2 separate regions of the Homo sapiens genome follow, and region 1 is linked to region 2. The links are contacts of gene promoters, found by promoter capture Hi-C in blood cells and fetal thymus (Javierre and others, 2016). All regions are on one chromosome and are shown on one strand. Each heading gives the region's core, a stretch centred on a gene start or on the middle of the fragment in contact. The rest is flanking DNA. Distances are from core to core; before and after follow the strand shown.

Region 1 (7,182 bases), core at 4,606-7,105, 120 kb before region 2:
GAGGACCACTTGAGGCCAGGAGTTCAAGACCAGCCTGGGCAACATGGAGAAACCCCATCTCTACCAAAAACATAAAAATTAGCCAGGTGTGGTGGCAGCTGCCTGTAATCCCGGCTACTTGGGAGGCTGAGGCACAAGAACCACTTGAACCCGGGAGGCAGAGGTTGCAGTGAGCTGAGATCGCGCAACTGCACTCCAGCCTGGGCGAGACAAGAGTGAGACCCTGTCTCAAAAAAATAAATAAATAAATAAGTAGGGAAACAGGTTCAGAGAGGTGAGCTGTTAGTAAATGGCAGAAGCAGTATGCAAGCCTCAAGCTTTGGTTTGTCTGTTTTTTTTTTGAGACGGAGTTTTGCTCTTGTTGCCCAGGCTGGAGTATAGTGAAGTGATCTTGGCTCACTGTAATCTCTGCCCTCCAGTTTCAAGCCATTCTCCTGCCTCAGCCTCCCGAGTAGCTGGGATTACAGGTACCTGCCACCACACCTGGCTGATTTCCGCATTCTTAGTAGAGACGGGGTTTCACCATGTTGGCCAGGCTGGTCTCAAACTCCTGACCCTGTGATCCGCCCGCCTCGGCCTCCCAAAGTGCTGGGATTACAGGCATAAGCCACCGTGCCCAGCCAGCCTGTCTGTCTTAAAAGCCTGTGAAAATATATCCCGGCCCTTTTCCAAGTCCTTTCACATATACAACCTCATTTGATCCTCACAACAACTCTATGAGCTGGACAAGCCAGATATCAACCCCACTGTGCGGAGGAACAAACAGATACCGAGAAGTTAAGTGATTTGCCCAAGGTTATAAAACCAGGCAGTAGCAGAACCAGAATCAGGGTCCCGGTGTCTTGACTCCCGTAGCCCAGTGTCTTACTGCTACATTCACAGTGACAAGTGGAGTAAAGTTATTTCGGGCCTAATGGGGTAAAAGTACCAAGTAGTACATAATGTGGAAACATATGCAAACAATAAGGCAAATGAAATGAAAACAGGAAGGAAAGCACACCTGGAGGCTGTAGACTCACAGACCTAGAGGAACTTTATAGCTCCAAATCTCCTCTTACAGAAAAGGTAACTACTGGCCGGGCGCGGTGGCTCACACCTGTAATCCCAGCACTTTGGGAGGCCAAGGCAGGTGGATCACTTGAGGTCACGAGTTCAAGACTAGCCTGGCCAACATGGAGAAACCCCGTCTCTACTAAAAATACAAAAATTAGCCAGGCATGTGCCTGTAATCCCAGCTACTCAGGAGGCTGAGGCAGGAGAATCACTTGAACCCAAAACGTGGAGGTTGCAGTGAGCCAAGATTGCACCCCTGCATTCCAGCCTGGGTGACAGGGCGAGACTCCATCTCAGGAGAAAAAAAAAAAAAAAGTAACTGCTGAGACATCAATGAGCTACAGGAAGTCAGAGGCAGGAGGTGTGGGGCTGCATACTTATTCTCTTGCCCAGCCTTCTACTGTACCCACTGTTATCAAGATTTCCAAAAGTAGAGGAAGGAGCAGCCCTGGGGTGAGAGCAGAAGAGCTCAGTTTGGATTGTGCTGGTAAAATCTCAAGACACAGTTGAAGCTCAAGATCTACAATAACCACAAGAGTTACCAGCTCTGGTTCTGCACTAAACTTGGAGGGTGCCAAGATCCGGTGCTCTGAGGAAGAAGCATGGCTGCATGAGGGAGTGTGCAGCGGGTGGGTCTCTTCCTCACTTCCTGGGTAAACACTGGGAGGCTGTGTAAATAAGAACTTTGGTCCCTGGGCCCCGGCTGTTTATCCATTGGCAACTGATTTCCCTCTCTGGCCACTTCCTCCTGCACAGAGTTTGGCCTGCCTGCGTTTCCAAAGCTTTGTTTATACTCTTATTTGGGATATGGAGCCTCCATGGGAAGGAATGGGTGTTTTGGACGTGAGAAAAAAAAAAATATTTTTCTTCAGGCACCAAACCAACATGTAGCTCAAATGACCAGCCCTTTTATTCCTAGTCAATAAGCTATGTGATTAGAGATGGAAAGGGGGCAAATGGAAGAGCAGATACTCATGTGAGCTAATCTGTGAGGGTAGGGAAGACTTTTCCATGGGTTTTCTCTCTTTCTGCTATAAACGCTTTTCTCATTCTCACACTAGCTTTAGACTAAAGGGAAGCAATACTGGGTGAGAGGTGGAAGCAGACGTAGGCAGAGAAGGCAGTCAAATGCTCATTGCAAAGAGATGGGAAGATTAAACACTAACCTCAGGATAGTGCTTATACCTTGGCAGTGCTGGTAATGGGGTGGGGGGCTGGGGGAGTGGGAGAGAAAGGGTATGTGATCAAGGAAAGATGCCCAAGGGGGCATCAACTGTATTGATAATGTTTTCTTTCTCAGGCTGGGTATTGGGCACACATGGATGTTCATTATATTATTATTATTATTTTTTTTTTTTTGAGACAGAGTCTTGCTCTGTTGCCCAGCCTGGAGTGCAGTGGCGCAATGTCAGCTCACTGCAAGCTCCGCCTCCTGGGTTCACACCATTCTCCTGCCTCAGCCTCCCAAGTAGCTGGGACTACAGGCACCCACCACCACACCCGGCTAATTTTTTGTATTTTTAGTAGAGATGGGGTTTCACTGTGTTAGCCAGGATGGTCTTGATCTCCTGACCTCGTGATCTGCCCGCCTCGGCCTCCCAAAGTGCATTATATTATTTTTTGATGCTTTTTGTGTGTGTCTAAAATATGTTTTTTTCTTTTTCTGTTTTTTTTTTTTTTTTTTTTTTTTGAGATGGAGTCTTGCTCTGTCGCCCAGGCTGGAGTGCAGTGGCGCGATCTTGGCTCACTGCAACCTCTGCCCTCCAGGTTCAAACAATTCTCATGCCTCAGCCTCCCGAGTAGCTGGGATTACAGGCATATACCACCACACATGGCTAATTTTTGTACTTTTGGTGGAGACAGGGTTTCACCACGCTGGCCAGGCTGGTCTCAAACTCCTGGCCTCAAGTGATCCACCTGCCTCAGCCTCCCAAAGTGCTGGGATTACAGGCATGAGCTACCCTGCCTGGCCTGTGTATCTAAAATATTTTATATACACTATATTTTTTAAAACTACAGAATTGGGGGACTAGAGTTCCATTCTGCATTCTACCATCACCTTGCTGTGTGACTGGGAAAGTTTACATGTCTGTAAAATGGATGAGAATGTCTCCCAATTTTTTACCAATCCCTTTTATCATGTTTTCACCAAAAGCCCCCTAAATGCATTTATTTGTGTTCCCATTTTCACTTGCTAAATATTAGGTCAGAACTTCTGGTCAAGGCTCTCAAAGTGACCAGAAAGGGTTTATTACATTTCAGCCACAAGCAAGGAAACCTGATTTACTCGATCTTATCATAAGCATAACTTCCTAGATTAGGTGTGTGGGATGTTTTTGTGTGTGTGTGGGTTTTTTTTTTTTTCTTTTTGAGAAGGAGTCTCGCTCTGTCGCCCAAGCTGGAGTACAGTGGCGTGATCTCGGCTCACTGCAAGCTCCGCCTGTCGGGTTCACACCATTCTGGTGCCTCAGCCTCCCGAGTAGCTGGGACCACAAGCGCCTGCCACCACGTCCGGCTAATTTTTTGTAAATTTTTAGTGGAGACGGGGTTTCACCGTGTTAGCCAGGATGGTGTCTCGATGTACTGACCTCGTGATCCGCCCACCTCGGCCTCCCAAAGTGCTGGGATTACAGGCATGAGCCACCACGCCTGGCCATGTGTGTTTTTTTTTTATTGAGACGAGTTCTTGCTATGTTGCCCAGGCTGGAGTGTGGTGGCGAAATGAGACCATACCTCAATGCAGCCCTGAACTGGGCTCAAGGGATCCTCCTGCCTCAGGCTCCTGAGTAGCCAGAATCACAGGCATGTGCCACCATACACAACTAATTTTTTATTTTTATTTTTTTAAGATAAAATAAGAGATGGGGGTCTCACTATGCTGCCCAGGCTGGTCTTGAACTCCTGGCCTCAAGCTATCCCTCCTGCCTTGCCCTTCAAAGCACTGGCATTACAGGTGCATGCTACCATGTCCAGCGCCTAGGTTAGATATTGGTACATATTCTAAAAGGGCAAGTTAAGGATTAAGGAATTTGAGGCTGCAGTGAGCTATGATCTTGCCACTGTACTGTACCCTGGATGACAAAGCAAGACCCCATCTCTAAAAACAAGAATAAAAATAAAAATAATTCTTTTTTTAAAAAGGGCTCATTACTGTCTTGGTAGATACCCCAGGTTATAAAGCACTGTGTTAAGTGACATCTAAAGTCTCTGTCTACTCTGACCCTCCATAACCCTACAAATCAACTCAGTGAGGTACTCTGAAGTTCTTAGAGAGGCTTATTCTTCCTGCCCCCATTTCTGATGACAGAAAAATCCAAGACCTAATTATTTTAATTAGAAAAATTTTTTTTAGAGACCAGGTCTCACTATATTACCCAGACTGGCCTTGAACTCCTGGGCTCAAGAAATCTTCCTGCTTCAGCCTCCTAAGTAGCTGAGACTATAGGCACCCAGACTGAATTTTTTTTTTTTGAGACGGAGTCTCGCTCTGTCGCCCAGGCTGGAGTGCAGTGGCGCGATCTTGGCTCACTGCAACCTCTGCCTCCTGGGTTCAAGCAATTCTCCTGCCTCAGCCTCCTGAGTAGCTGGAATTACAGGCATGTACCACCAAACCAAGCTAATTTTTGTATTTTTAGTAGAGATGGGGTTTCACTATGTTGGCCAGGCTGGTCTCAAACTCCCGACCCCAGGTGATCTGCTTGCCTCAGCCTCCCAAACTGCTGGGATTACAGGCGTAAGCCACCACACCCAGCCAGACTGAATTTTTTAATGTACAACTTTAGAATGCTGGATTCGGAAAAATTGGCGCACCAGAGCAGAACCTGCACACTCCTCAGGGCATAGCATTTTGTCTGCCTTGATAAGTTTGTAAATAATAAAAATAGTAAGTCATAATAGCAAAAGTGATTATGCAATAGCAAAAATAGCAAAAGCAATTCATTGAGGGTAGACATATTATATATATTTAAATATATTATCTTCACTTATTCCCCCATCCTTGACTATGAAATAGGCACTAATGTCTTTTTTTTTTTGGTCTCGCTCTGTTGCCCAGGCTGGAGTGCAGTAGTACAATCATGGCTCACTGCAGCCTCGACCTTCCAGGCTCAAAAGATCCTCCCTCCTCAACCTCCTGAGTAGCTGGGACCACAGGTGTGCACCGCCATGCCCAGCTAATTTTTTTATTTTTTTGTAGAGATGAGGGTCTCACTATGTTGCCCAGGCTGGTCTCAAACTCCTGGCTGGGCTCAAGCAATCCTCCCACCTTGGGCTCCCAAAGTGCTAGGATTACAGGCATGAACCGCTGTGCCTGTCCTGTCTTCCTCTTAAAGAGGGAAAACAGGTCGGGCACAGTGGCTCAGGCCTATAATCCCAGCACTTGGGGAAGCCGAGGCTGGCATATCACCTGAGGTCGGGAGTTTGAGACCAGCCTGACTAACATGGAGAAACCTAAAAATACAAAATTAGCCGGGCGTGGTGGCACATCCCTGTAATCCCAGCTACTCAGGAGGCTGAGGCAGGATAATCGCTTGAAGCCGGGAGACGGAGGTTGTGGTGAGTAGAGATCGCCCCATTGCACTCCAGCCTGGGCAACAAGAGCGAAACTCTGTCTCAAAAAAAAGTGGCAGGGGCGGGAAATAACACCAGAGGGGCTAGGAAACCAAGGATTCAAACTAAGACATGAAAGCTTATTTTCTTACTTTAATAGCAAGTTGCTCCTCTAGTGAGAGCCCACTGTGCTGAGAGTAGAGCCTGATCCTTGGCCTAAATGGGTTATGGAAACCTCTAAAGCCATCTACAGGAAAGGCATGAATTTGCCTCATCTTGGAGGGAAATAAGACCCTGCAATTCAGAGAGCAAACACCTCACTCACAGCAGCTGGCAGCTCCTGGAGTTGTCGGTAGCAAAGAAGCTTAATGCTTCAAGGAAGGTCTCTGTGGTTCTGCCATCAATACCACTGTACAGTTATTATTAGTTGTAATAATAGTTATAAATAACTTTCTTCCTTGGGAGTAAGACTACCTTGTGGTCAGCAGCAACAAACAAGTGCCGCATATTTTCTGACACTTCCATATAAGCTGTCATAAGTTAATCAAAACTTCTTCTGGACAGTGCTGTTATACTATATGAAGTCTTAGGTGCTAAGAGATAATTTCTAAAATAACACAAGGGGGAAGTCAGGTATGATAGTTTTGTCCCAAATTTGAATACTTTTTTTTTCCCCCTCACAGCTAAAATAATTCCCACGATTCCTACAAACTAAGCGTGGCTTCCAAGATGGGACCTGCTCTGAAGTTCAAGTCCAAGGGATCAGGGGCAGCATCACCTCATCTCAAAGATTACACCATCTAGAATCTGTCCTGAGTGGCCTCTAAATTCTCAATTAATACCCACTAAGTCAAAACAGTTACAGTTGGACAGAAATCAGAGATCATGTGGCCCAGCCCACTTTACAAAAGAAGAATCTGAGGGGAAGTGACTTGCCCACTCAGCTGAGAGTTAGAGTTAAATTTTACTGTATCTATTGTCTCCCCGTCCCAGGTCAGTGCTTTTTCCACTACAATAATTACAGTACTCTTGGGACAGTGTTGTGAACATAACCAGAAAAAGTACTACCTCTATCGTTTACAAATCAGGAAACATGAAAAATCCGACTTGAGGGGAAAAAGCACTCTGGCACCTTTAGGAGGTAGGGGAAATCAGGTGTCCACTGAATGGGAGGTGCGAGGACGGCAGAATGGGCCTCTACAGTGGAAAGGGAGATGCAACTGGCGGCTTCAGAGTGTGAGGGAACAGAATGGACTTACATCTCTGCATCTGCTTGCTGTACTCCGACATGTTATCTGGACGGATGGAGCGCAAGAATTTAATGTAGTCATCGCTGTGGTACTTGGTCATCTCCTCAGCATTGGCTTTGTGAGGGCGCTAGAGGGCAGAAGGGAGAAAGGGCAAGTTATTTTTGACCACGGCCAGTCCAGTCAATCTAGTTTGAATATTTATATTTCCTGCGCAGCATGGAGCTAGGTGCTATAAAGAATAAAAAGAAATAACTGGTTAGATTCAGGCTTCAAGAAATTTACAATCTAACTAGGCAAACAAGATTATCAAAGGAGACAGAGTATCAGAAGA
Region 2 (6,450 bases), core at 1,590-4,089:
CCAGGCTGGAGTGCAGTGGTGTGATCTCGGCTCACTGCAACCTCGCCTCCTGGGTTCAAGTGATTCTCTTGCCTCAGCCTCCCAAGTTGCTGGCATTATGGGCGCCTGCCACTATGCCCTGCTAATTTTTTTTACTTTTAGTAGAGTTGGGGTTTCACCGTGTTGGCCAGGCTGGTCTTGAACTCCTGACCTCAGGTCATCTGCCTGTCTTGGCCTTCCACAGTGCTAGGATTACAGGCCTGAGCCACTGCCCCTAGCCCTCTTCTTTTTTTTTAATTAAAAAAAAAATTTTTTTTTTGTTTGAGACAGAGTCTCACTGTCACACAGGCTGGAGTGCAGTGGCACAATCTCGGTTCACTGCAACCTCTGCCTTCCAGGTTCAAGTGATTCTTGTGCCTCAGCCTCCCAAGTTGCTGGGATTATAGGCACCCACCATCACGCCTGGCTAACTTTTGTATTTTTAACAGAGATGAGGTTTCACCATGTTGACCAAGCTGGTCTCAAACTTCTGACCTCAGGTGATCTGCCTGCCTCAGCGTCCCCAAGTGCTGGGATTATAGGCTGAGCCACCATGCCCAGCCAACCCTCTTCTATTTAAAAACTCTTTTAAACAAAAACAAAAATACATAGAAAACAAAGCCAAACCAATAAACCAAAAAAACTGTCTTAAAATTTCCACTGCTCTCAGGATAAAATTGAATGCCCCTGCCAGCCTGGCCCTCCTGCCTTCCCAGTTGCCTTTCCTGCTACTCTCCCCACAGCCTTGAGCTTCATGCCCCTTAGGCAAGTGGTGTGCAAAACCAGGGGGAAACACAGTGGTCTTATCTGGAGCAACTGGAGAAAGAATACATTGTATTTAGTGGGGAACAAACATGGACACATTATAAGGCAGCATGCAAACTCCCAATCATAAAAAAAATTCAACAGAGAATTCAAATTGTGCCCCCAGGTATTTCCTCACCATTTCCTGTTCCCTGATACTCCAGGGCCCCCAAACCACCTGTGGTTCCTGAAACCTTTCAGGTAATAGCTTTCTTCCATATTTATACCAGGTAAGCCTCTCAGCGTGGAACATTCACTTTCTTGCAGAGTTGCTCACTCCCTCCTCTGAGGCGAATCCTCACGCTATGTGATCCCAGTGACCCACCTGGCCTTTTTGCCACACAGTTGAGGGTAGGGACTGGGTCTGAGTGAGCTCTGAGTTCTCAGGGGTCTGCTCCAGAAAGGCATCAATTATTGCTTAGGAACTAAAGGCGGAGGCCCCCCTTGCCTTCCTCTCTACAGTGCAACCCAGAGTTGGGGTCCCTCCTCCTTTCCTTCCCTTCTGTACCCACCTCTTGAACTTGGCCCGCTGCTTGGGGGATGGCAGATGAGGAAGTCCTAGGGCCAAGGAGCCGCTGTGGCTGGTAGGCACAGGGACCCTCCGTAGTGTGCCTGGGGCCTGGGCTGGCTGGGCCAGGCAGGGCTTGGGACTCCGTTTCTTCTTTTTGTCATCCATTGGGCGCTGGCTGGGCCTCAGGCCTAGGAGGGAAGCAACCCCACAAAGATAGCCAGGGGCAAAGTTAGCCCTTCACCCAGAAATCCCTGAGAGCTGCACCAAGGAAGGGCCCTGGGACCTTCCAGCTTGTCACCTCATCTATACGGTAGGGGCAGAGCCAGATGCCAGTGTCTGCTGCTGGGATCGTGGATGTACACTTGAAGGACCTTCTAAGGCCCAACCTAATTCCCCTTCTGCCTGAAAACCTAGGCCCCTCCTGAAAGGGTGGGACCAGTCACAACTATCTTGGCGCTACTGGGGCTTCCTGTCACGGTGGCTGGGGGGCGGGGCTGGCAGAGGAAATGTAGTGGGAGACAAGACGGAGGTGAGCTGCAGAAGCCCAGCCGAAGATTAGGGATGTCTTAACTAAACCCTATTCTATTTATCAGGGGCCTAAGCAGATGCTAACAAACCCTGTCAGCATGGGAGGGGGACAAGGTGCAGGTAGGGGCGCCTGGGAAAGCCCCAGCGTGTGGGTAATTGTAGGAGAAGCCGCAGCATACAGGGCAGGGTTCATTGTGGGTTTCCCCCACATAGACACCGGCATCCCTCCACTTCCACCCACCCCCAACCGAAAATATTAGGGACTCCCTATAGGTCCCGCGGGTGTGCTTTCAGCTGCTTCATTTTTCCCAGTCGGAAAGTCCCTGCTGGGCTTCAGCTGCAGCCAGGGTGGACTGGGTGGTTGGCCGCTGGCTGCCTGGGCCTCCGACAAAGGCTGCGCCTGTGGCTGGGCTGCTCCGAGGTCCCCGGTCCAGCAGCGCCCCCCAAGCCTCCGGTCGGCTGGGGTTCCCTCCTCTGGGGGTCTCATTCCAGGCTGCTGCTACCGAGCCTAACTTCGAATTCTGGGACTGGGGGGGTTGGGGGGGTGGGTGGCGCTTAAGCATTTACACTGACACATAGCTGGCTGCCACTGACGGGGTCTGCGGGTGTGGGGAGGGGAGATAGGAGCGCATCCTCTGCCTCTCCGTGCAGCAGCTTGACCCAATTAGGGACCTGATAGAAGAACTGGAGCCGGAGCCTGTGCTCCCCAGGAGCGGCTGGGGCGACCGGGGATCTATTTCCCAAGCCCGGGCTCCAAAGCCATGTGCCAAACTCATCGCTCAGCTCCGCAGCCGCGCTCGAAGACAGAGCGTCAGACCCGCGTCATTCCGCCCCCGCCCTCACTCCCTCAGGGGGCTACTGACCTGGAGGTTTGGGGTCTCGAGTGATGCTTCGGTGCAAGTTCCCTCCGCCCTCCGCCCTCTCCTCCCGGGAACACCACCGGGTGAAAGCTAAGCTGGAGGGAGTTCATTTGCATTTAAAGAGAAAGTGACCTTCTCCTTAGCGCGGTGGGGTGAGATGGGAGGAGCATCCCCGCGTATGCTAAGCAGTTCCTCTCACTCGACCTCACCTCCCCGCCTGAACCTAGGGGACCCTGTTGGTTGTGTGATGTCTATTTTAAAAAGATTTTCCCTTTCCCGGCAGTTTCAGAGAGAAGCTACAGTTCCTTACAAAATGGTGGTGGCTTTGTCAGAAAGGGGGTGGGGCGGGGGAGAGGAGAGACAGAGTGAGTGAGTGAGAGAGAGAGAATGTAAGCACAGAAGAAGCACAAGCAGCAACAGCAGCAGCATCAGGAAGACACTTCGAGCAAAGACAGCCATCAATGGAGTGAGTCCAGTGCCCTATTGAGCACTTTACATACATTTCATCCCCATAACAACCCTTAAGGAAGATACCAGTGTCATTCCCCATTCTACTGAAAGTAAGCAACAGTCTTTTGAGGGCAAAACCCCTCTCTCTACAATGCCAGACAGTTTTCTCTGGTAAGTGGTGGGGGCTGTATTTTGCCGCAGATGAAGTGACAGGAGTCCTCCCCACCCCCCAGGCCTAGGAGACAGGTGTGGGGAGCACCAGGTCATAAGGTAGACCACGCGATTCCCTGGCACCTGACTCCAGTCCTCAGGGAAACCTGAGCACCTGATGGAGGCTGACCCAGTGTGACTGCTGCTGCCTGCAGCCAGATCAATGGGGGCAGCTATTTAAAGCCCTGGCAGAGGCTCCTGGCGCAGGTCCCCAGAACAGCATCTGATACAACAGGAGAGAGGCTCATGTTTGGCCAGGCGGCTCAGCAGGCTCAAGTGAGCTGGCCCAGGGCAGTGCACACAGCCACCCAGCCCACCTTCCCCATCCCCGGGCAGGAGTGGCTTCCTGGGGTTGGGCCTCTTGGCTGATGTGGGGAGCCATGGGCACTGCTCCTGAGGGCACCTGCTCAGGGCTTCTTCCTGGGTACTTCCAACACTCAGAACACTCCACAAGGGTAAAGAGTAATTCCGAACTTTTTCAATAACCAGGGGCCCAGACTGGGGACAACAGAAATCCCTCTCCTTCCCCACCGGAGCTGCTAGAGTAGACAGTGGTAATGCTGCTGACAGAGGGAGCACCCCTGTGGTTCCCATCCTCAGCTGCTTCACTGGGGGGTCAGAAACCTCATTATTCTCAGAGCTGCTTTGCTTGGAATCTCCAAGAGTTGGGGCGGCACCCCCCCCACACCCTCCAGAGGATCTGCGACTAGAAATAACATGGCCAGCATGGAAAACATGTATCAGGACCCAGCTAGAAGGGTCAGAGGCTCTGCTGGGACTGTCACAGTCATTGTGGGCACATCTATTTGTGGAGGCCTGGAGGGAAGGGCAGGTGGGTTGTCTCTGCCATTTCCTGGGCATTCAGCACATATCATCCTTTGTGCCTGACCAACCCAGGACCCAGAGAGAACAGGGTGCTGGGTGAGGCCACCAGCAGCATGTCTCCCATATAGGAGTCCCATGCTTGAGGTGGGTAAATGGGGGGTGTAAAAACTGAACAGAGAATGTGCTCTCCTTAAGGAATGCATACAATTAGAGGCCCCTGTGAATTCCCTTGGGCAGGCCAGGGCTATAGGAGCCTACCCACAGCTCAGACCCAAATAGCAGTGATGAGTGTCCACCCCTCTTAACCTGGGCCTCAAATGGCCTATGCCTGGCTCCATGCCTTTTGCCTTACTGCTGGAGCCTATCAATTTCCTATTGAAACACCTTCAGTTGCCCCCCCTGCCCTCTGGATCTAGCCCACATTCCTTAACCTGGTACCCAGACTCTGGGCCCAGCCTCACCCCCTCTCCCAGTCCCATGGACCTGCTTCCCAGCTGTACCATTTAATCACTAAATGACGTTCATCTTCTACCTGCCCTGTGGTTCAGAAGGCCATTCCAGGTATCACCCCCTCACCTTGCTGAAGGGGGCAGGGGCCTCCTCTCTGCTCTCAGCACCATTGACCTGTCTATAGCTAAAAGTACCTTTTCCCTTCACTAGCCTGTGAGCCCCCAGGTCAGGGAAAACTTTTTTGTGTGTGTGTGATCCTCTCTGAGGCAAGGGTCTTGCCAACTTTGCCAAGGGCTCCACTCAGGCAGCTCAAGTGAATATGCCAGCATCCTGAGGCTGTGGCGACTGCTCAAAGACACTGTGGAATATGTAAGATACCAGGGAACCACCATGGGCGCTCTGCAGCAGACCTGAACAAGTCAGTGATGATGGAAGGGGCTGAATGGATCAGATCCAGAAACAAAGGAATACACAGGTCAGGAGAGAAACAAGTAAGGCAACAGACTCTTTATTTAATGTGGTTTAAAATACATCAAAATCAAGTCCCTGGCTGTTGTGAATACCCAAAGGAGACAAAAAAGCTGCCAGTGCAGCTTCAAACAAGTCTGAGTGGCCGGGCTGGGCCATAAGGAAAGCAGTTACAGGGACAGAAGGCAGCTCCCTTCCCCCAGGAAGGGCAAGAGGAGCAGGTGCCTGGCTGTCCCTGGGGTGACCACCTCTGTGCTGTGCAAGGCGGAAAGGCTGGGGCAGCAGCTGGAGAATCAGCTCAGCAGGCCTTGGCCCTCCCCCGTGGACACCAGGCAGCTCCACTGGCCTCCGGGTCAGCCCTCAGGGCCACCGTGATGGGGTGGAGGAGGGTTAAATAACCATCTTTACAGAAATAACAGTCTCCTACAGAAAGTGCCTGAGCTCAGCCCATGGTCCGATAACCTCATGGAAAACAAACAACAAATAAAAAAAAAAAGTGCTGCTGACACCTCTCAGAATCTGGTGGACATGAAGCTCTCAGCTGGACAAGGCCCTGAAAACAATTTACTATTAGCAGAGCCATGCGCTCTTGAGCTTCACCTGCTGTGGTCCCCTGGAGGAAAAGCTAGCAATCTAAGAAACCAACACAGATCTTGGTCCTAAAACTGAGGTCACAAGTGTGGGACCCACCCAGGTGAGGAAGACACTGGCCTTCACTCATGGATAGGCACCTCCCCTGCATCTGGCCCAGGACCTGGGCTACTTTGGAAAGCAGAAGCAGAGCAGCTGTAGTGATTGGTTGATTTGGTCAATGAAGAGAAGAAAAAGGTAGGGAACCTCATCTGCAGACTGGCCTGAAGGTCTAGACATGGATGGAGCTGTGAGCAAAGGCTGCACCTTGCCTGGGGCCCACATTCCTGACCTGGGAAACCCAGCTGGGGCCACCTGCTCACTGTGGCCTCCTACACCACCACACTGGGATCCAGCAGCTCCAGTCCCTCCACAGGCATTAAGAGGTAGCTGAAGTGTGAGTCAGGCAATTATGTGGGCCACTGTAGGCCTTTCCCCTCTCTTCAAGGGGGAAGGTGCATACCTCTGCCTCTTCCCTGCACCTCTCTCGCCTAGCAAACACTCTGTGAGGTTGGCAGCTCTTGTACCAGCTTAGCCTGGCACAGGGGCTGGGGTAGGGAAAAGGCCCTACTGGAGCAGGAAGAGGCAAGGACTACTCCAGACAGAGGGATTCAAAGGGGAAGAAAAAGGTCATGGGAAACACTTCACAGGACAGCAGTATCTCAGCCAGAGATGGCAGAGATCTCAACACTCACA

The links. The method cuts DNA at HindIII sites, captures the fragments that hold promoters and counts their contacts. A CHiCAGO score of 5 or more calls a contact.
Region 1: a contact is called between a fragment that was not itself captured here and the fragment with the promoter of CCDC28B in region 2, in 13 of 17 cell types (endothelial precursors, total B cells, megakaryocytes and 10 more). The highest score is 14.9, in endothelial precursors.

What each region holds. Positions count from the first base shown.
Region 1 is chr1:32,316,461-32,323,642 of GRCh38, reverse strand. HDAC1 (histone deacetylase 1) reads right to left here. Exons shown (of 14, transcript NM_004964.3): 3 at 6,861-6,978. Among named protein-coding and RNA genes, the nearest start is that of MARCKSL1, 16 kb to the left of the region's middle. The HindIII fragment of the contact is 225 bases long and covers 5,743-5,967 here.
Region 2 is chr1:32,196,984-32,203,433 of GRCh38, reverse strand. CCDC28B (coiled-coil domain containing 28B) reads right to left here and starts at 2,839. Exons shown (of 6, transcript NM_024296.5): 1 at 2,725-2,839; 2 at 1,335-1,521. The coding sequence starts at 1,498. TXLNA (taxilin alpha) reads right to left here. Exons shown (of 11, transcript NM_175852.4): 11 at 5,149-6,450. RefSeq lists enhancers at 1,473-1,993, 1,862-2,081, 1,994-2,513, 2,772-2,851, 3,064-3,621 and 2 more. The HindIII fragment of the contact is 8,664 bases long and covers 1-6,450 here.